2 separate regions of the Homo sapiens genome follow, and region 2 is linked to region 1. The links are contacts of gene promoters, found by promoter capture Hi-C in human tissues and cell types (Jung and others, 2019). All regions are on one chromosome and are shown on one strand. Each heading gives the region's core, a stretch centred on a gene start or on the middle of the fragment in contact. The rest is flanking DNA. Distances are from core to core; before and after follow the strand shown.

The links. Contacts are between HindIII fragments. The study calls those that stand out against the background at their distance.
Region 2: the fragment with the promoter of KRT34 here is called in contact with the fragment with the promoter of KRT10 in region 1 in 2 of the 25 tissues and cell types used here (bladder and mesendoderm cells).

Annotation. Positions count from the first base shown.
Region 1 is chr17:40,821,360-40,825,401 of GRCh38, reverse strand. It overlaps KRT10 (keratin 10), which reads left to right and starts at 2,788. Exons shown (of 8, transcript NM_000421.5): 1 at 2,788-3,443. The coding sequence starts at 2,817. The region is part of intron 1 of KRT10-AS1 (KRT10 antisense RNA 1); the gene reads right to left. The HindIII fragment of the contact is 10,916 bases long and covers 1-4,042 here.
Region 2 is chr17:41,381,041-41,385,020 of GRCh38, reverse strand. It overlaps KRT34 (keratin 34), which reads left to right and starts at 2,715. Exons shown (of 7, transcript NM_001386014.1): 1 at 2,715-3,122; 2 at 3,226-3,308; 3 at 3,809-3,965. The coding sequence starts at 2,775. RefSeq lists an enhancer at 2,523-3,722. The HindIII fragment of the contact is 11,267 bases long and covers 1-3,980 here.

The DNA of each region.
Region 1 (4,042 bases), core at 1,539-4,038:
ATAAGGACGGGAGGTGTATCTCATTCATTTTTCTATATTTTAAATACCTACCAATGCACTTTACATAGAGACACAATAAAAATTGAGCACAATGAAAATACAGTTACAGTGGATTATAGCAATCAAGTGTAAATGGTGCCAAGACTAGAATCATAAATGTTCATCCAATTTAGCTGTAGAATTATTATGTGGCATCTCTTAATTTTACTCATGCCAAAGGCTGATTTCAACAAATGACAGTGTGAATAAAGACAAATCAATTTCTACAGTATACAAGTTAATAAGTAATCTTTGGTAATAACAGTAAAGGTAGCTTAAATTAAATGTTATAGTATTAGAAGGCCCTCCATACCTGTATTTGTTCTTATGTACTTTTATGCAAAGATTCCCTTTCATATATTCTTTGGTTTAATATGATTGTAACAGAGCTCTCTTCATACCACTTGTTAATTAACTGAAAGGAGACTGGGATTTTTATATTTTCCACTGGGGGGAGAAATTATAGGCTAATACTAAAACAAAATTGGTAATACTAAGATCCAAAACTTGTGCTAATTACAGGTAAAATCAATCAAAATATCTTTTTAATTAAAATGTTTCTTTCCAAAAAGATTTCATTAATATCAAGGTTTCAACATGTTCTCTGAAGTTATTGGAGTTTTTTCTTTTCCTATCCTGATTTATCATAGCCTTCTTTAACTGTAGGTTATCTTCATCAAGAATCAATTCCCATGGTTGGGTTTCAGTTTTTCTTTTAACTACTGCCCCATTTGCATGTGCTAACAAGTTGGAAGAGTTGCAATCTGCTGGGTAGTAACCTCCACTTTAACAATCAACATTTGATTAATGCTCCCAACCACACTCCCTTCCCTACAGAAACTATTTCTGTAGTTTTCATAAACCAAAATGTGCAGCAATAAACTTAATTTGAAAAAACAATTACTAAAGGTAGAGTGTGTGCCAAATCATTACCCTTTGAATATTTTCATGATTCTAAGTTCTTTTTGTTTTGCTCTTTTTCCCCATTTGGAGAAGTTTACGGTGAGAATTAGAGTCATTCATCTCCATTAGACCAAATCCACTGGAGCAGATAATATATATACACATTGGTAAAGTGGAAAAGAACCAAGGAGTTAAAAGACCAAGCTTCTAATTGCAGTTCAACCACCTGTTACATATCTTCAGGAAAAAATCACAACCTCTCAACTTCAACTTCCTCTTCTATAAATTAGAAATAACAATAACCACACCTGTAACCCCAGCACTTTGGGAGGCCAAGGCAGGCAGATCAAGAGGTCAGGAGATTGAGACCATCCTGGCTAACATGATGAAACCCTGTCTCTACCAAAAAGACAAAAAATTAGCCAGGTATGGTGGCACACACCTGTAGCCCCAGCTACTCGGGAGGCTGAGGCAGGAGAATGGCGTGAACCCGGGAGGTGGAGCTTGCAGTGAGCCGAGATGGCGCCACTGCACTCCAGCCTGGGCGACAGAGCAAGCCTCCGTCTAAAAAAAAAAAAAGAAAGAAAGAAAGAAAGAAAGAAAAGAAATAATAATAACCACCATTCCTATCTCAACAGCTTGTTCTAGAAATTTTTAAAGCACAGTATCACAAACAGCACTACATAATTGTAAAACATGTATGAATATATACATCCAAACAACAGCAATGTCATAGCCTATGGGTAGATATAATCTTATACAATGTACCAAAATCCCAATTTACTTCACTAGACAAACTGTTATACCAAATTCTGTACACAGTATATCCAAGAAAATGTGTTGTTTTTATTGAGAAACTGAACCTAGCTTGGGAACACATGTGCACAGTCTAGTTCATAATATTTGGTGCAAGTATCATTCTCTAATATAGATTTACATTTTTGCAAGCAAATTTTTACTTGCAATCATAACATATCCAAATTTTCCCTTTTTACTCAATCAGAACTTAGTGTAAAGTACTACAAGTTAGTTCTTCGGATTTCATGCTAAGAAAATAATGCAGATTTTCTGCATTATTATGGTCTTCACAGAAACCTTAACTATGATGAATTTAAAAGTGCAAAATAATCCAGGATAACTTTATGATTTCAGATTTTTTAATGTTAAAAATAATGCCATCATTAATTAGAAAATTCTAAAATCATTACTTCCACTTTCTTAGGCAAAATATCAATATACTCTCATTTGCCAAATAAATTAAAAGATCTCCTACAAACACAATCTCCTAAATTGTGGTTTTATGGCTTTAATGTTTTATGTGTGGCAACTATTGATGCTAGTTAAATTTTTAGAAACTTTTTCTTTTTGATTCCCTACAGTTGTCTACAAGAACCTTATTGTAGCATGATCCTGCCAGACTTTATGCTATTTGTTGCTCCAATTAAAACTGTTTAAAACATGAATTTGAAAAATCTTATTTTAACTATAATTTTGTAGCTGAAACTTTTTTTTCTAAACTTTGCAAACATTCTATGCAACCTGAATTAGTGCTGAGAAAAATGGATCTTAACGGTTGCTCAATGTTCTTCAACAGGTGAAAAGCATAATAAAACATGCTCATCTGAACTCCACCCATTTTCAATTTCAACATAGCAAACCTCCTGTTTATTCTTAGGGCAAATTCAAAATTGTACATATTAGGATTGGTTATTACTGAAGATAATTTATGCAATCATAAGCCAAAGATGCTAAGTTGGCAAAAAGAAAACAATGTAAGTAAGCAAACTCTAACACATGTGGACACACCCTCTCAGTATATAAAGGCTTGTCACTGTCCTTGGTAGCAGGCACTCCCTGGGCTAAACAGCATCACCATGTCTGTTCGATACAGCTCAAGCAAGCACTACTCTTCCTCCCGCAGTGGAGGAGGAGGAGGAGGAGGAGGATGTGGAGGAGGAGGAGGAGTGTCATCCCTAAGAATTTCTAGCAGCAAAGGCTCCCTTGGTGGAGGATTTAGCTCAGGGGGGTTCAGTGGTGGCTCTTTTAGCCGTGGGAGCTCTGGTGGGGGCTGCTTTGGGGGCTCATCAGGTGGCTATGGAGGATTAGGAGGTTTTGGTGGAGGTAGCTTTCGTGGAAGCTATGGAAGTAGCAGCTTTGGTGGGAGTTATGGAGGCATCTTTGGAGGGGGCAGTTTCGGAGGTGGCAGCTTTGGTGGGGGCAGCTTTGGTGGAGGCGGCTTTGGTGGAGGCGGCTTTGGAGGAGGCTTTGGTGGTGGATTTGGAGGAGATGGTGGCCTTCTCTCTGGAAATGAAAAAGTAACCATGCAGAATCTGAATGACCGCCTGGCTTCCTACTTGGACAAAGTTCGGGCTCTGGAAGAATCAAACTATGAGCTGGAAGGCAAAATCAAGGAGTGGTATGAAAAGCATGGCAACTCACATCAGGGGGAGCCTCGTGACTACAGCAAATACTACAAAACCATCGATGACCTTAAAAATCAGGTAAGAGGTATTTTTAAATCCAGCTTTAAGTATCTTGTCCATGTAATCCAGACAGATGAATCTTAAATTAAGCACAATGTGGCTGTTCACTATGCTTACCCATGTTACTTTCTTCCTTCAAAAATAACCCAGTCTCATCAAAGATAAACATCTGTGAAACTATGGTCATGGCAATCTTCATCCAGCAAGTGTGCTACTTGTCTTAAGAGGATGGGAGATTTACTAAGCACTTTTGAGGTTTTAATGAGCATACAATGAGTCCACAGTTAAAATATGCTAGGCTATTTACAAATGTAGAAACTGAAAAAAAAAATCATGATATGAATCAGAACAAAATGTTATTCAGACTGATAACAAGCCATATTCAGTACCAACATGGCAAGAAAAATAAATTTTCCAGTATGAAAATGGGACACTGCTTGCCTCTAAGGAATTTCTGAATTGTACCTATTGTGTACCAGTTCAGAGTGTATTTATTTATTAGTATTTATCATGAGTTAAACAAATGCAGGTGTGAGTCAGCCAAAGCATGGCTGAAATACATGGAAATCACATAGTCTAAAAGAGGAGGGCACACTTACAGGAATACATCTATATAA
Region 2 (3,980 bases), core at 1,466-3,965, 560 kb before region 1:
ATAATGAAAAAATTCACCAGGAAGATATAACAATTGCACACATATATGAACCCAACATCAGAGCACCTAATATATATATAACAAACATTGACAGAACCAAAGGGAGAAATGGACAATGCAATAATAGAAGAATTCAGTAACTCACTTTTGATAATGAATAGAACATTCAGATAGAAAATCAACAAGGAAACAACAGATTTGAGCAATACTATAGAACAAATGGACCTAACAAATAACACGTTCTATCCAATGGTAGCAGAATGCATATTCTCCAGTGCATGCGGAACATTGTCCAGGATAGATCATATGTTGGGTCACAAAACAAGTCTTAACGAATTTAAGAGGATTGAAATCATACTAAGTATCTTTTCCTACCACAATGGAATGAAACTAGAAAACTAGAACGGAAATAAGAAAAAAACTGAAAAATACACAAATATGTAGAAATTAAAAAACATTTAAATAATCAATGGGTCAAAGAAGAAATCAAAAAGGAAATTAGAAAATATCTTGAGACAAATGAAAATGAGAACACAACGTATCAAAATTTATGGGATGCAGCAAAAGCAGTACTAAGAGGAAAGTTTTATATATGTATATACATAAACCTATATCTAAACATACACACACGCCTACCATGTACCTACAAAAATTAAAAAATTAAAAAAGATAAAGAACAAACTAAGCTCAAAGTTAGCAGCAGGAAGGATATAATAACACTTTTTGCTCTAAATTTTATTATGATACTTACGATAAAACTTAGAGCAGAAATAAATAAAAATAGAGACTAGAAAAACAATAGCAAAAAATCAATGAAACAGAGTTTTTTTGAAAGACACAGAAAATTTACAAACCTCTAGATAGACTAAGAAAAAAAGAGGAAACACTCAAATAAATAAAATCGAAGATGTGCTTTTCTGCTCCTCTCATGCTGCTTTTGAAATTCAGATGCAGCCTTCTTTAAATGATTTGTATTGTGTTCCACAAATAATCTTTTGGGACTTCTTTCTGAAACATGACTTTGTTTCCCTGCGGAACAAAGGCAAGGTAGAGTGACAGGGAAAAGAAGTGAGGTAGGGAAGGCTATTCTGTGAAGAGTGATTATTGGGCAATAGAGAGGCTCCCTAGGTTATGCAAGAGTCAAAGGGTAACTGGATCCCAGAGGTGATAGAAGCACACTTATCAGAGACAGTGTCTACTTGTAGGGACAACAGAGTAAATCTGCATTCTCATGGGCACTGTGGCTTGTCCTGGAAGCATCTCAGGCTGGCATAGTCATACCTCTAGGAGAGTTAATACTCTAGAAAGAGGAACAAGTCTAGAAATAAGATGATAGAAATTTCCAGAGAATTTGAGAAAAAGCCACCATGGATACAAAGATACCTCTGAGCACCCTTGCTCCAATTTTCGTTTCTTGGTGAGTCTGCAGTATTATGCTTCATATTCATGCTTCAGTGCTGCCATCTGAACTCTCACTGCTCCAGACTGTTTCCAGCATATTTTTTCTTCTAGATATTTCTACTCTTGCTCATCTTTAGAGAGGCTGTTGCTTTAGTACAAGTTGGCAAATTTTTTAATTTTAGGGCTTTGTGGACACTATAGTCTCTGTCACAACTACACAACTCTGCCACTGTAGCACAAAAGCAGCCATATACAATAGCTAAACAAATGGGCATGGCTGTGTTCCATTAAAACTTTATTTACTGCCGGACGCATTGGCTCACGCCTGTAATCCCAGCACTTTGGGAGGCCGAGGCGGGCGGATCACGAGTTCAGGAGTTCAAGAGCAGCCTGGCCAACATGGTGAAACCCCATTTCTGCTAAAAACACAAAAATTAGCCGGGTGTGGTGGCGGGCACCTGTAATCCCAGCTACTCGGGGGGCTGAGGCAGATAATTGCTTGAACCCGGGAGGTGGAGGTTGCAGTGAGCCGAGATCGTGCCACTGCACTCCAGCCTGGGCGACAGAGTGAGACTCTGTCTCAAAAAAAAAAAAACAGAAAACAAACAAACAAAAACTTTATTTACAAAAATTCAGCAGGGTAAACTTGACGTGTGGGCTGCCATTTGCAGATGCCCTCTTTTAGGTATACTCCCATCCATTCCATTGGTTTCCATTTTACTTTCTCATTTCTCAACCATGAACATGCCATTGTTTTCAGTTGCTCCATGTGTTGGCAAGTTCCCTAAACCCCAACGAATAGTAAGGCTCAGGATCATTTCGGCGAATACAGGTTGAGTTTCTGCTATAAAAACAAATTGAATGCTGAAACATGGATGAATGTGGGAGGAAAGAGCTACTTGGAAGAGTAACTCTCAAAGCTCTCTCTCAGAGCTCTCTCTCTGGGGAGAAAGAACAGTGGCGGAAACTCCTGGGTGAGGAATCCCTGATTCCCAAACAACTCCACCCCATGTCCCTGGCTGTCCTCCCCTCTGAGTAATGCAGACAGCCTTTTGGGGCTGTGATGATTCTATCTCCTATGAAGCCATCTGATGAAACTCTGATTTCACCAACCACTAGCACCCAGGAAGAGCCTGGTGTGACATAAGCTGAATGGAATAATTTTATGGGTTGAGGGGGGACTCTTTAGAAGCATCTAACTAGCATATTTTGGAGAAAAATTAGCTGAAGCATTAGGAAAGGAAACTATGCTGTATGCCAAGCCCCCACCCACAATTAATGGTATAAAAGGACTGCAGAGGAAGGAGAGACTCAAACCTGCCCACATCCACCTCCAGCAGCTTACCTGCTTTTCCATTACCTGTTCCAGCACCATGTCTTACAGTTGTTGCCTGCCCAGCCTGGGCTGCCGCACCAGCTGCTCCTCCCGGCCCTGCGTGCCCCCCAGCTGCCACGGCTACACCCTGCCTGGGGCCTGCAACATCCCCGCCAATGTGAGCAACTGCAACTGGTTCTGTGAGGGCTCCTTCAATGGCAGCGAGAAGGAGACTATGCAGTTCCTGAACGACCGCCTGGCCAGCTACCTGGAGAAGGTGCGTCAGCTGGAGCGGGACAACGCGGAGCTGGAGAAACTCATCCAGGAGCGGTCCCAGCAGCAGGAGCCCTTGCTGTGCCCCAGCTACCAGTCCTACTTCAAGACCATTGAGGAGCTCCAGCAGAAGGTGAGGGGGTTGGCCATATGGGGGGCCAGCAGCAGCTGGCTCTCTTTGAACAGTAAGACATTTTCAAGTTCAAGTGTACCTCATGAGAGAAATTTCTTTTCAGATTCTGTGTGCCAAGGCTGAGAATGCCAGGCTGGTGGTGAACATTGACAATGCCAAGCTGGCCTCTGACGACTTCAGAAGCAAGTATGTTGAACTTCAAGGTCCCTATGGTTCTTTCATGGCCCTAGGGACCTACTATTGCCTGGAAGAGAGGAGAAAGCCATTTCTCTCTATTTCTCCTCCTAGGGCTGGTTATGTAAAATTAGTTTCAAATAGGGAACTAGACTCATGTGCTGCCTGCTCTTTGGTCTATACTGGTTTTTTTTGGAAGTGTTTCTTAAACCACAAAATTCAGAGATTGAAATGAATTGTTCTTTGGGAATTGATTTGGTGGTATATTAGCTAACAAAACCGAGAACACAGTGAGAGACTTCATCTCATGTGTGCCTGTGGGCTCCTCGTGGTGTTAGGTGAGTCAGGGAACCTCTTCAGCCTATCCATGGACAGCTTGACTGAAGCATATGGAAGAGAAGAGGCAGAAAACTGTAAGTTCAAGAAGATTCAGGCCAATTCTACCCAAACAACACATGAGAGGGGAAGGTGGTTTTCTTTCCTGACTTATCCTCCCACTCCGACACGTGCAGGTACCAGACGGAGCAGTCCCTGAGGCTGTTGGTGGAGTCGGACATCAACAGCATACGCAGGATCCTGGATGAGCTGACCCTCTGCAAGTCTGACCTGGAGTCCCAGGTGGAGTCCCTGAGGGAGGAGCTGATCTGCTTGAAGAAGAACCATGAGGAGGTATGAAACAAATTC